3 separate regions of the Homo sapiens genome follow, and all the other regions are linked to region 2. Evidence: promoter capture Hi-C in human tissues and cell types (Jung and others, 2019). All regions are on one chromosome and are shown on one strand. The core of a region is centred on a gene start or on the middle of the fragment in contact, and the rest is flanking DNA. Distances in the headings are between cores, read along the strand shown.

What was found. Contacts are between HindIII fragments. The study calls those that stand out against the background at their distance.
Region 1: a fragment that was not itself captured here is called in contact with the fragment with the promoter of DOCK5 in region 2 in 1 of the 25 tissues and cell types used here (hippocampus).
Region 3: a fragment that was not itself captured here is called in contact with the fragment with the promoter of DOCK5 in region 2 in 1 of the 25 tissues and cell types used here (hippocampus).

The regions. Positions count from the first base shown.
Region 1 is chr8:26,594,416-26,598,165 of GRCh38, reverse strand. The region is part of intron 3 of DPYSL2 (dihydropyrimidinase like 2); the gene reads right to left. It overlaps LOC124901916 (a long non-coding RNA gene), which reads right to left. Exons shown (of 2, transcript XR_007060865.1): 2 at 2,837-3,750. Among named protein-coding and RNA genes, the nearest start is that of DPYSL2, 82 kb to the right of the region's middle. The HindIII fragment of the contact is 4,444 bases long and covers 1-3,750 here.
Region 2 is chr8:25,183,439-25,187,371 of GRCh38, reverse strand. DOCK5 (dedicator of cytokinesis 5) reads right to left here and starts at 2,683. Exons shown (of 52, transcript NM_024940.8): 1 at 2,421-2,683. The coding sequence starts at 2,463. LOC124901912 (a long non-coding RNA gene) reads left to right here and starts at 2,995. Exons shown (of 2, transcript XR_007060861.1): 1 at 2,995-3,933. RefSeq lists silencers at 2,386-2,435, 2,606-2,775, 2,786-2,865. The HindIII fragment of the contact is 16,568 bases long and covers 1-3,933 here.
Region 3 is chr8:26,403,860-26,407,441 of GRCh38, reverse strand. All of the region lies in intron 3 of BNIP3L (BCL2 interacting protein 3 like), which reads right to left. Among named protein-coding and RNA genes, the nearest start is that of BNIP3L, 23 kb to the right of the region's middle. The HindIII fragment of the contact is 5,499 bases long and covers 1-3,582 here.

The DNA of each region.
Region 1 (3,750 bases), core at 699-3,198, 1.4 Mb before region 2:
AAAACTGGGGTGAAGGGGCTACTCCCCCATACATGTAATTTGTCCAAGCCCTGCCATAGCCACCACCTCCCTGGATCCTCAAAGCAACCCTATTATGCAAGACATGCTGATCCAGGTGCATCTGACGATTCAGAAAACCAGGACCAAGCCGTGGGGCACCGAGCCTGAGCTAATAAGCAGCAGAGTCGACCCTGGCACGAAGGTCTCCCAGCTCCATGAAGATGCATCATCAAGAAGGTTGGGCCTCAAATTCTTTCCATTACACTTCATGTTTCTCCCTGGATTATCTCCATAAAGGAGAAAAACAATACCCAGAACACAATTCCAACTCTGAGAAATTGTCTGATCTTCCTCCTTGTCTCTGCCCCTCAAAAAAAAAAAAAAAAAAAAGAGGCCAGGTGCGGTGGCTCTTGCCTGTAATCCCAGCACTTTGGGAGGCCGAGGCGGGTGGATCACAAGGTCAGGAGATCGAGACCATCCTGGCTAAAACAGTGAAACCCCATCTCTACTAAAAATACAAAATATTAGTTGGGCGTGGTGGCGGGCGCCTGTAGTCCCAGCTACTTGGGAGGCTGAGGCAGGAGAATGGCGTGAACCTGGGAGGCGGAGCTTGCAGTGAGCTGAGATCAAGCCACTGCATTCCAGCCTAGGCAACGGAGGGAGACTCTGTATCCAAAAAAAAAGAAAAGAAAAGAAAAATGCCATCTGCCCGTGGTGTTTCCCAAGCAGACATGGGAGGTGCTGAGCCTAATGAACCTCATAAAAGCCCACGCCAAAGCGATTCAGAGAAATGCAAAAGATGAGTGCCAGGCAAGGGCAAGGCAACCTCGGAGCAGCCTACGTGACAGAAATCAGCTCAATCTGGCCCCGCATGGAAGAAGGCTCCCGGGCCTCCCAGAAGAAGGATTAAGTTCAGTTGATGAATGCATGGCATCAGTTACTCCTCTTGATTGCTCTCCAAATCCCCCTCTGGGATGCAAGGGGAGATCTAGGGCATCAACCCAGGGCTTCTGTAGGAGAGAAGAGACACCCAATATACCACCGTCTTGGTGAGCATCTTCCATGCTGGGTGCAGCCTCCCACTTAGTAGGAGACGTATGATATCTGATCATTTTCTGCCTATATATTACAGAAAAAGTACTTTTAAATAACAGGTGGATGGAAGGGCAGGATAAAACTTGAACACCAAAATCTTTCTGTTCTTCCAGGATGGATAGGAGCCCTGTACCTGAGGGCAAACTCAAGGTGGGTGCTGTGTCTGGGATTGTTGTAAAGCACCTGTCACAAGGCTGGGCACAAAGCAGCTTTCATGAGCAGGCTGTCTAACTGCTACAAAACAAACGTTCCTCTCGCATTCTAGGATATGCAAGGGCCATTGGCCCAGAGCTTGGATTGGAATCCCAGCCCTCGCACTTGCAGGCTCTGTGGCTTCAGGCAAGTCATTTCACTTCTCTGGACTGCTCATTACTTCATTTATAACAGGAGGATAAGCCTATCTATCTTCGGGGTTGATGGAAGGATTAGAAATGGTGTATGCAGGGCTTGCGTCCCACAGATTCCCGATAAATGATATCAATTATCTGCTCCCTCCAAACTCCTCACTTTCTTCTAACCATCTCTTGTGAAAAGGACAGAATCACACAACTCCTACCCATGACTCCCGGCAGGTCTGTGGAGAGGTCCAGAGAGCAACTGCTAGGGTCATCCCCTTCCCGAGCTCACTGGAGGACAAGAGGACTCAACACGTGTCCTTGTGTCCTTTAGAGTGACAGATGCCTGGGTTTGCCTAGGACAGCCCTGGTTTGCACTGCTGTCCTGCAATCATTTTTAGTAGGATATAGAAGTGTATTCGTTTGGACAAGAACCTAAACGTTCATCCTACAAAGAGGGCTGAAGCCCCATCTAACTGTGCAAAGTGACACAACAACACGCCACCAATGCTGTGCCCAAGCTGTGGCTTTCTGCCCAGTTTCCATTTAAAACTCTGAAGCTAAAGTTGCACTTCCTCCAAAAGATTAGGTCCTCCCTCACTGGGCTCAGAGTTAGCTCCAAAATATCTGTCAAGGCCTCAGGGACAGTTTCCTCATTCAACTCTCTCCTTGCTTTAAGGATGGACCCATCCTACCTGCTTTTTCATCCCCTGTGATTTCTGCAGCTAATGAGCTAAGGTACTAAATAAATAAATAACAGTAATTAAAAAAAAAACAAACTCCCAGCTGAAGCAAAAAGGCATGAGATATGCCTGTCCACACAAAGAAGCTGCTCGCCTCTGCCAGAACTGGCTAATAATGGGTCCTCCCTTTGCTTTCAGTTCTGCTGGGTCCATACTATCCCTTGGTTTGACACTACAAAAGAGGAAGGAGCCACCAGCCACACCCGGCTGGAGAGAAGAGAGCTCTGCCCTCTGCCAGGCCTCTCCCACGCTGCACTGCTGGGCATGGTAGGCCCTACATGACTAAATGCTTCCTTAGCCGAAACACCCACTGGGGAAGAATTTGTCACCAATACTTCCAGCAGCACGACCCTGCAGCCCTGCCTGGAAGCTCAGCAAACTGCAAGGCAGCGGGGAAGAGGGCAGAGGTCTGGTTCAGCGAGGAATGCAACCCCCCTAGCAGACAATGCAAGGAATCCACCATGAAAAACGGAGGGGCTTGAATTCAACAGCACAGCAATGGCCACTTATAAAGTTGGCCTCATTTGAATGCCAAAAAAGGCTGAAAATTCAAAGATAGCAAGAGTTATTGATTTGACGGGCTGTTTTCTGGGAACACTGCTTTACATCTGCAGGGCCAGATGTGTTGTCAAGAAAATCAGGCTCCAAATTCTCCAGAGATTATTTGGAGGAGGAAAAAAAAAATAGCGAAAAGTAAAATTTTTATTTTCTTGCATAAGAAGTCTTCTTACAGGATTATAAGCCCTATAAGCTACATTATACCTTTTTTTTTAAGATGGGGTCTCACTGTCTCCCAGACTGAAGTGCAGTGGCACAATCATAGCTCACTGCACCCTCAAACTCTGGGGCTCAAGCAATCCTCCTACCTCAGCCTCCCAAGCAGCTAGGACTACAGGTATGTGTCACCACGCCCAGCTAATTTTTTATTTTTATTTTTAGTTATTGATTGATTGATTGATTGATTGATTTTGGTAGAGACAAGGCTTCACTTTGCTGCCCAGGCTGGTCTTGAACTCCTGGCGCCTTCAAGTGATCCTCCCACCTCAATCTCCCAAAGTGCTGGGATTACAGGCATAAGTCACCATGCCCAGCCAATAAGAAAGCTTCTTATACATCGTTGTTTTTCCTGCTATGTTCAAAACGCAAACTCATGTACATAGGCTTGAAGTTGAAACAATCCTTGAGACTTCTTCCTGATCTCACTAAGTGACAGTGAAGTGAGATAACCCATCTGGAATCAGGTGGCATGCAACTGCATCTTTGGTATATGAAAGATGAACAGATGAATGGTCAATTGATAGATTAGATAAACAATAGATATATACAGATAGATTAGAAAGATGATAGATTAATGATAGATTAGGATAAGTAAAACAGATAAGTGATAATCAATAGATATAGAGACGATGGATTAAATAGAGATGATAGACCATAGGTACAGACAGATGTCATATCAAGATAGATATAGACCAGATAGATATATATCAATATATAGATAGATTAGATAAATGATAGGTAGGTAGGGAAATAGATAGATGGTAGATTTGGTAGACGATCATTTCGTAAGCTTCTGGAGG
Region 2 (3,933 bases), core at 1,434-3,933:
ACACACAATTTCCACCCATATTTCCATATACATATATATATACACACACACACATATACGCATATATACATATATATGTATATACATATATACATATATGTGTGTGTATACGTGTGTGTGTGTGTGTATATATATATATACGTATATATATGTATATATAGTTTTTTTTTTGAGATCGGGTCTCACAGTATCACCCAGGCTGGAGTGCAGTGTCGTGATGGGGGCTCGGTGCACCCTCAACCTCCCAGGCTCAAGCTATCCTCCCACCTCAGCCTCCTCAGTAGCTAGAACCACAGGCACAGGCGACCATGCCCGGCTAAATTTTTTTCGTATTTATTGTAAAGACCCGTTTGCCATGTTGCTATGCTAGTTTTGAACTCCTGGGCTCAAGCAATCCTCCTGCCTCTGCCACCCAAATTGTTGGGATTACAGACGTGAGCCATCGCACCTGGCCCAAATATTTTTCTTGACTGATAAGTGACACAGTAAACTGACTCCAGAACATAAAAACAAAATATTAAAAACAATTATACTTGCTCCTAGGACTATGGCAATAAAAACCACATTTTTGAAACATGTTTGCATTAATTACCCTCAACTGAATAGTTTTGAAAAGAGCTTTTAATCCTGATAAAATTAGAGTTGATAACATTTCTGTAGTGATTGGGCATTGTAAATATGCTTTCATCTAGGGGCCAGGTGAGGTGGCTCATGACTGTAATCCCAACACTTTGGGAGGCCGAGGCAGGCGGATCACCTGAGGTCAGGAGTTTGAGACCAGCCTGGCCCAGATGGCGAAACCTGGTTTCTACTAAAAATACAAAAATTAGTCAGGTGTAGTGATGCAAGCCCGTAATCCCAGCTACTCGGGGAGGGGGGCTGAGACAGGAGAATTGCTGGAACCTAGAGGTGGAGCTTGCAGTGAGCCGAGATTGCGCCACTGCACTCCGGCCTGGGCGACAGAGTGAGACTCCCTCGTCAGTCCGTCTCAAAAACAAACAAACCAAAAAAAAAAAAAAAAAGAGCCCTGAGGCAGAAGCAACATCTCTACCCATTTCTGAGATGCAGCTAAGGGAGAGACTAAGATTCTAAAAGCAACTTAAGAGCAAAAAAGAAAATGTCTTTTGAATTGAGGGAAAACAAAAAATAATAAATATATAAAGGATCACAACCTAAGAATAATATAGTAAATATGAGACTGTTAAAAAACAAAACAAACAACAACAAAAAACCCTGACTCCTGGCTACAGAGTTGAAAAGCCCCTAGACACGTTGAGTAGCTCTTAATTGAGACTGCACTTCATTAACCAGTGAGGTGAGGAAAAACAGGACCTCAGTAAGGGAGTAAAGTCAAAGACTAAATTACAAACAGGCCAAATGAATGGATCTGAGAGGAAGTGATAAAATTCGCAACACACTCAGCCGTGTTTATTGTAGGGAATCACCCCAGGTCTAACTGCCATTGTAATCACCCCGTTCAGGGCAGAAGTCTTCCCACAGGCCCTCAATAACTTCAATCCTTGATAAAAAGCCAAAGGAGCCTGACTTTCCACCTGGGTCAAAATCCCCGCACATCTATTGTTTCGGAGCCAAAGCACCACCACCAGCAACCCCTGCGCACAACCCGGGGCTCTCCAGCACCGCTGTTCTGAATGCCAAGTGCCCAGCACGGGGTCTGGCACAGTTTCCTTAATAAAATGTCCTCTTCTCGTCTCCAGGATGAAACTCAGGATCCGGAAGGCAGCCTTACACCCTCTCCAGACAGGCTCCGTTAGGGGATGAGTGCGCACAAACAGCCCCAGGGGCCAGCCACCCCCTTCCCGTGCCACAACTTCCTGTCCCTTCCATCACTTCCACGCCACGACTCTAGTTTCCATCCAGCTCACAACTGTCATCAAGATCCCAGTCTCTGGAGGAAAGGGGGCAGGGCGGCTTTCCACCCTCAACTCCTCACTTAAGGGGCGTCTGAGAAGAACCTACGAAAGCGGGGGGCAGAAAGCACTGGGACAATGAGCACCAGTCCATGTGCCGACCCGGGCTGGTCACCTACTCCCAGGTGAAACCCACGCTGGGCGCACCGGGGCGAGCCACAGAGCTGCGGCCCCAAAAGAGCAGCAGGCGCGCCCCCCTCGCGTTGACATTTCCCTGGTGTGAAGTGCCGGAGATTGGGATGCAAGAGCGGGATTACGGTCCCGAAGCTCAGCTGCACTTGGAAGCACTCGGAGTCCCCAAACCCTGGGCGACTTCCCCATCGGCGCTCCCTGGAGAGGACTCCTACCGTCCCCGGCTCCCAGAGCTGCGCAGCCGGGCCGAGCCCCCGGCCAGGGTCCTCCGCCGGGCTCTGCGCAAACCTGGCAGGGCCGCTGTCCGCGAACTTGGCCGCGTGGGTCGGGCCGGGACAAGGTGGGGCGCGCACTCACCAACCCCGTACTTCTGCCTCTTGGTCGGGATCCAGCGGGCCATGGCGGCGACCTCGCCCCGCGGCGGCGGCGACTAAGGCTGCTACAGCTCCTCGGGCTCCGGCCGCCGCCGCCCCGCGCTCCTGCGTGCCCCAGACGCTTCCGCCATGTTCCGCCAAACTTCGCTGGACTCCGCGGGCCGCCTCCTCGCCGCGCCGCCCGCGCCCGTGCCCGTGCCCGCGCCGCCCGCGGTCACCTGCTGGGCCGGGCTGCAGCGCAGCAGTGCGCGCCCCTCCTGGCGCCGCCCCAGTCCCTCCCGCCGGCCGCACCCTCCGCCCGCCGGGGCCGCCTCCGAGCCGCGGGCGCCCGGCCTCTCCCGCCCGCGCCGCTCTCTGCGCTCTGCCGGGCGGGGGCCGACTGCGGCTCCGCCTCGCGCGCTTCCCTGGAGCGGCTTCCTGGGCCGGCGGGACTTTGACGCTGGCGGCACTTTGCCTTTCTCCCGCCCTCCCCACCCGGCTGATACCCCGGAGGCTGGGTCCCGGGGGTCCGGCTCCCGACAGAGGGCTGCGCTGGAGGAGCCGGGCACGCCCAGGCCGGGCGGCCGGTGGGCGAGGGATGCGGGCTGCGCTCCCACGGCGCGCGCCGGACACTTGGGGAGCGGAAACGGATCAGCGAGAGCGGCTTCTTGCTCGGGGCACCTCCGGTGCCTGGCACTAAGCGGGCGCGCAATAAATATTTGTTGAATGAATGAGCAGTTGACTTCTGCCTTCACCCCCTGGAGCTTGAACCCGCGCCGCGAGCGGGAGAAGCCGGACTCAGGGCAGACTGAATCTCCCGGGGCCACCGCTTAGAGCCTGGAAAGCAGAACTTTTATCACCGGAGAGCTGGTGCAAGGGAGGTGGGCTCCTCAGAAGTATCAGACCGTTTGCTAGGGGATCCTCTGCAGGGAAATTGTTTAGAAAGCCCTAATTTGGAAGTCCTGTATCCCCAAACTCCGGGGACCCCCCAACCTTAAGCTGAAGAAACTTAGACCCTCATGCCCAGACCTCCCTTTCCCAACCAGCCAGCAGCCCAGAGAGCATTCCCGTGGAGAAAGGGCCAAGGCGCATCCCCGTCTTTTCTCCGTCAACGACTGCCTTTTCTTGACGAAGATCCCAAAGGGGCTGCGCATTTGAACCGCCTTGGGCTCCAGGTGGCGCCCTCTCTGGAGCTCCCCTCTTGGAATTCATTTCTTCCTGGAGAGACTTGGAGAATGAAGATCCAGGGGTTTCTCCCTACCTTGTACCGAGAAGTAACATTGCAAGTAGAGTAAATGACCAGCTTAATTACGTTCACCTTCGAAGAAGATTCCTCTAGAGAGAAATTATATCCTCCTTGCAGCCTGTGAAGGTTTTCATGCGTTTTAGGAATATAAAAGAAAGGAAGACAAACATGTAGTAAAGATAGTAAAGACAGGTAGTTGGCCAGGCGTGGTGGCTCATGCCTGTAATCTCAGCACTTTGGGAGGCCGAGGCGGGTGGATCACCTGAGGTCA
Region 3 (3,582 bases), core at 1,022-3,521, 1.2 Mb before region 2:
GGCCGAGGTGAGCGGATCACAAGGTCAGGAGATCGAGACCATCCTGGCTAACACAGTGAAACCCTGTGTCTACTAAAAATACAAAAAAATTAGCTGGGCGTGATGGCGGGCACCTGTAGTCCCAGCTACTCGGGAGGCTGAGGCAGGAGAATGGCGTGAACCCAGGAGGCGGAGCTTGCAGTGAGCAGAGATCGCGCCACTACACTCCTGCCTGGGGGAAAGAGCGAGACTCCGCCTCAAAAAACAAAACAAAACAAAACAAAAAAAAATTAGCCGGGCATGGTGGCGGGCACCTGTAATCCCAGCTACTTGAGAGGCTGAGGCAGAAGAATCGCTTGAGCCTGGGAGGTGGAGGTTGCTTGAGCCTGGGAGGTGGAGCCGAGATCCAGCCACTACACTCCAGCCTGGGTGATAGAGTGAGATTCCATCTCAACAAAAAAAAGAAAAAAAAAAATTTCATAATTAAAAAAATAAAAGGAAATAAAAGGATATGCTAAAAATAAAATGATGAGAAGTAAAACAAAAATAAGTGAGAGATGTGATGAGGAAATAAATAATAGTATTTATTGAGCACTTAAAGGGGCAAATATTATTCCAAGCATGTTACATGCATTTTTTTTTTTTTTCTGGAGACAGGGTCTCCTGTGTCACCCAGGCCAGAGTGCAATCACAGCTTACTGCAGCCTCGAACTCCTGGGCTCAATTAATTCTCCCACCTCAACCTCCCAAGTAGCTGGGACTACAGGTGTGTGCCACCACGCCCAGCTAATTTTTGTATTTCTTTAAAGAGACAGTGTTTCACTATGTTGCCCAGCCTGGTCTTGAACTCCCGGGCTCAAGGGATCTTCCCTGCCTCAGCCTCCCAAAGTGCTGGGATTACAGGTGTGAGACACTGCACCCAGCCACATGCATTAACTTTCACCTTGCAACAAATAACCCTATAAAAATAATTATTAAAATCCCATTTTACAGATGAGGAGACTGAGACATAGATTAAATAACTTGCCTAAGGTTCCACAACCAGTACATAGCAGGGCCAGTATTCAAACCCAGGAATACTGTATAGAGAGGCCCTACTGTTAAGCACCAGGGTTTACTCTCTGGAAGGAGATTATATTTTTAGGACAAATTGCTATACAAACATTTTCCAAGGTTTCGAAACTATGTTAGCCAAAAGTTTTTGGGAATAATCTATAATAAGTTGAGTCAGAATTTAACATGTGTCATATCAAATAAAATAAAAAATGTGACTTTTAAAAATTGCTTATTATAACCTAAAGTTTCAGGCCAAGAACAATTAACATTTCCAATAGCTCCCCTTTTAATAGAACCAAAAGGAATGAAAAAGTCCTAAAAATGATATTTATTTATTCAGTATTATTTATTCAGTTTTCTTTTTGAGACGGAGTCTCGCTCTGTCACCCAGGCTGGAGTGCAGTGGCGCGACCTTGGCTCACTGCAACCTCTGCCTCCTGGGTTCTAGCAATTCTCCTGCCTCAGCTTCCAGAGTAGCTGGGATTACAGGCGCCTGGCACTACACCTGGCAAATTTTTATATTTTTCGTAGAGACGGGGTTTCACCATGTTGGCCAGGCTGGTCTCGAACTCCTGACCTCAAGTGATCTACACGCCTCAGCCTCCCAAAGTGTTGAGATTACAGGCGTGAGCCACCGTGCCTGGTCATAGTCAGTTTTAAGGGATGTCATGCTATGATCCCAAACCCAGGGGTCTCAAAACTAAGAAGCATTTTGACATTTTATTTTGTTTGACTAGGATTCACTCAAAAGAATGACCAAAGCTGTCATTCTTTTCAGTAGGTAGCTAAGAAATGCAGAGTCTGACATATTCACATGACTCTTGACAGGTCTAGTTCTCTGTGAAACAGCTACCCCAGGAAGGAGCTTCAGACAGGGCAAAGTAAAACCCCTGTGCGTTCTGCTGCTCTTGTTAGTACCAATCTTATCTAGTTCTGCTGAACTTGGCAAATTCCACTGAATGACACAATGTAGCATTTAGGATTAAGCTCCTTCCATTGGCTATTGAGATTACTCAGAATCATGAGTTGGCTCTTTGGAGTAACACTGAAATCATCCCAAATCAAAAACAATAAACTGTTACAATTTACTTGCACATCAGTTCCTGTACACACAATATCTGACTATACTCAACACACTGCAGGTCGCTTCTGTTTAGTTTCCTGCTTTGGCCTCACAGATCTTTCTTTAAACCTGCTCAAAGATTTAACAAGTTAATATTTCATAATTTCTGACAGAATGAAACGCAGTAAGATTTCACGCTCTAATTTTTTTTTTCATGAGGATGGAATTTTCTCAGTTGAATGAAGCAAAGTTATCTCTGGACAAGTGTTTTAAAAAGAAAACAAAACAAAAAAGAACTCCATAAGTTTCCCAACTTACAATACTTTAAGAATAAGAGTGGTAAGCTTTCCTCATTCACTACCACTCTGTGCTTCCTTTTATTAATCTTAAATTTGCCACTTTCAGGTTTTAAACTGCCTTCCAATTCTTAGAATTCCAGAATATGGTAAAAATGTACTTAATCTAATTACGTAAGATTTGTGCTTTTAAAATCAATAATCCTCTCTCTATACCTACATCTATTCAAAGAAGATTCTGGCTGGGCACCATGGCTCATGCCTGTAATCCCAGCACTTAGGGAGGCCGAGGTGGACGGATCACTTGAGGTTAGGAGTTTGAGACCAGCCTGGCCAGCACGGCGAAACCCTGTCTCTACTAAAAATACAAAAATTAGCCAGGCGTTGTGGTGCACACCTGTAATCCCAGCTTCTTGGGCAGCTGAGGCAGCAGAACCACCTGGAAACAGAGGTTGCAGTGAGCCGATGCCACTGCACTCCAGCCTGGTGACAGAGTGAGGTCCATCTCAAAAACAAAAAACAAAAACAAAGAAGATTCTGATCGTTCTAGCCTGTTCTCTCACATGGAGTTCTTTGTTTTCTGATCACTTAAGTTTTCCTTCTCTGGTTTACCTCAAGGTCACTCTGTCCTCTAAATATGGATATTAAGCTGTATACCATGATTCATGTACAGATAAAAATCACAGTTTTACAAGACAGGAAATGGAGGATATTTTCTGTTTGGATCATTTTTCAGTAACACTCAACATTGTGCTGGCATTTTTGGTCCCAGAAACACAATGCAAAAATGTCTTCAATAAATAATCTATATCGCTTCTCGGACTTTTGGCTAAGATCAAGTGAAGAAACAATCTACAGTCTGTTTTCTGATACAAAACTGAGACTCTTGAGGATGATCATCCGAAAAGCAGTTTCATGGTCTTTTTCCTAAGTGCACACTGCCTTAGGCAGATTCCCCATACCATAACTCAGCAGACATTTTTCAGTTCATTCTCATGGCTTTGTGAGCTCTCCTGTTATCAATCGAATTCATTTACTTAGTTCAGTAGAAAGAACAAGGGCCACAGACTCAGACCTGCTTTGAATCCTGGCTCTAACAGTGACTTGCTTTGTGATCTTAGATAAGTAATTAGTACAAAGCCTCACTTTTTCCACTGGTCCATGGGGATAATATCATTGCTTTCACTG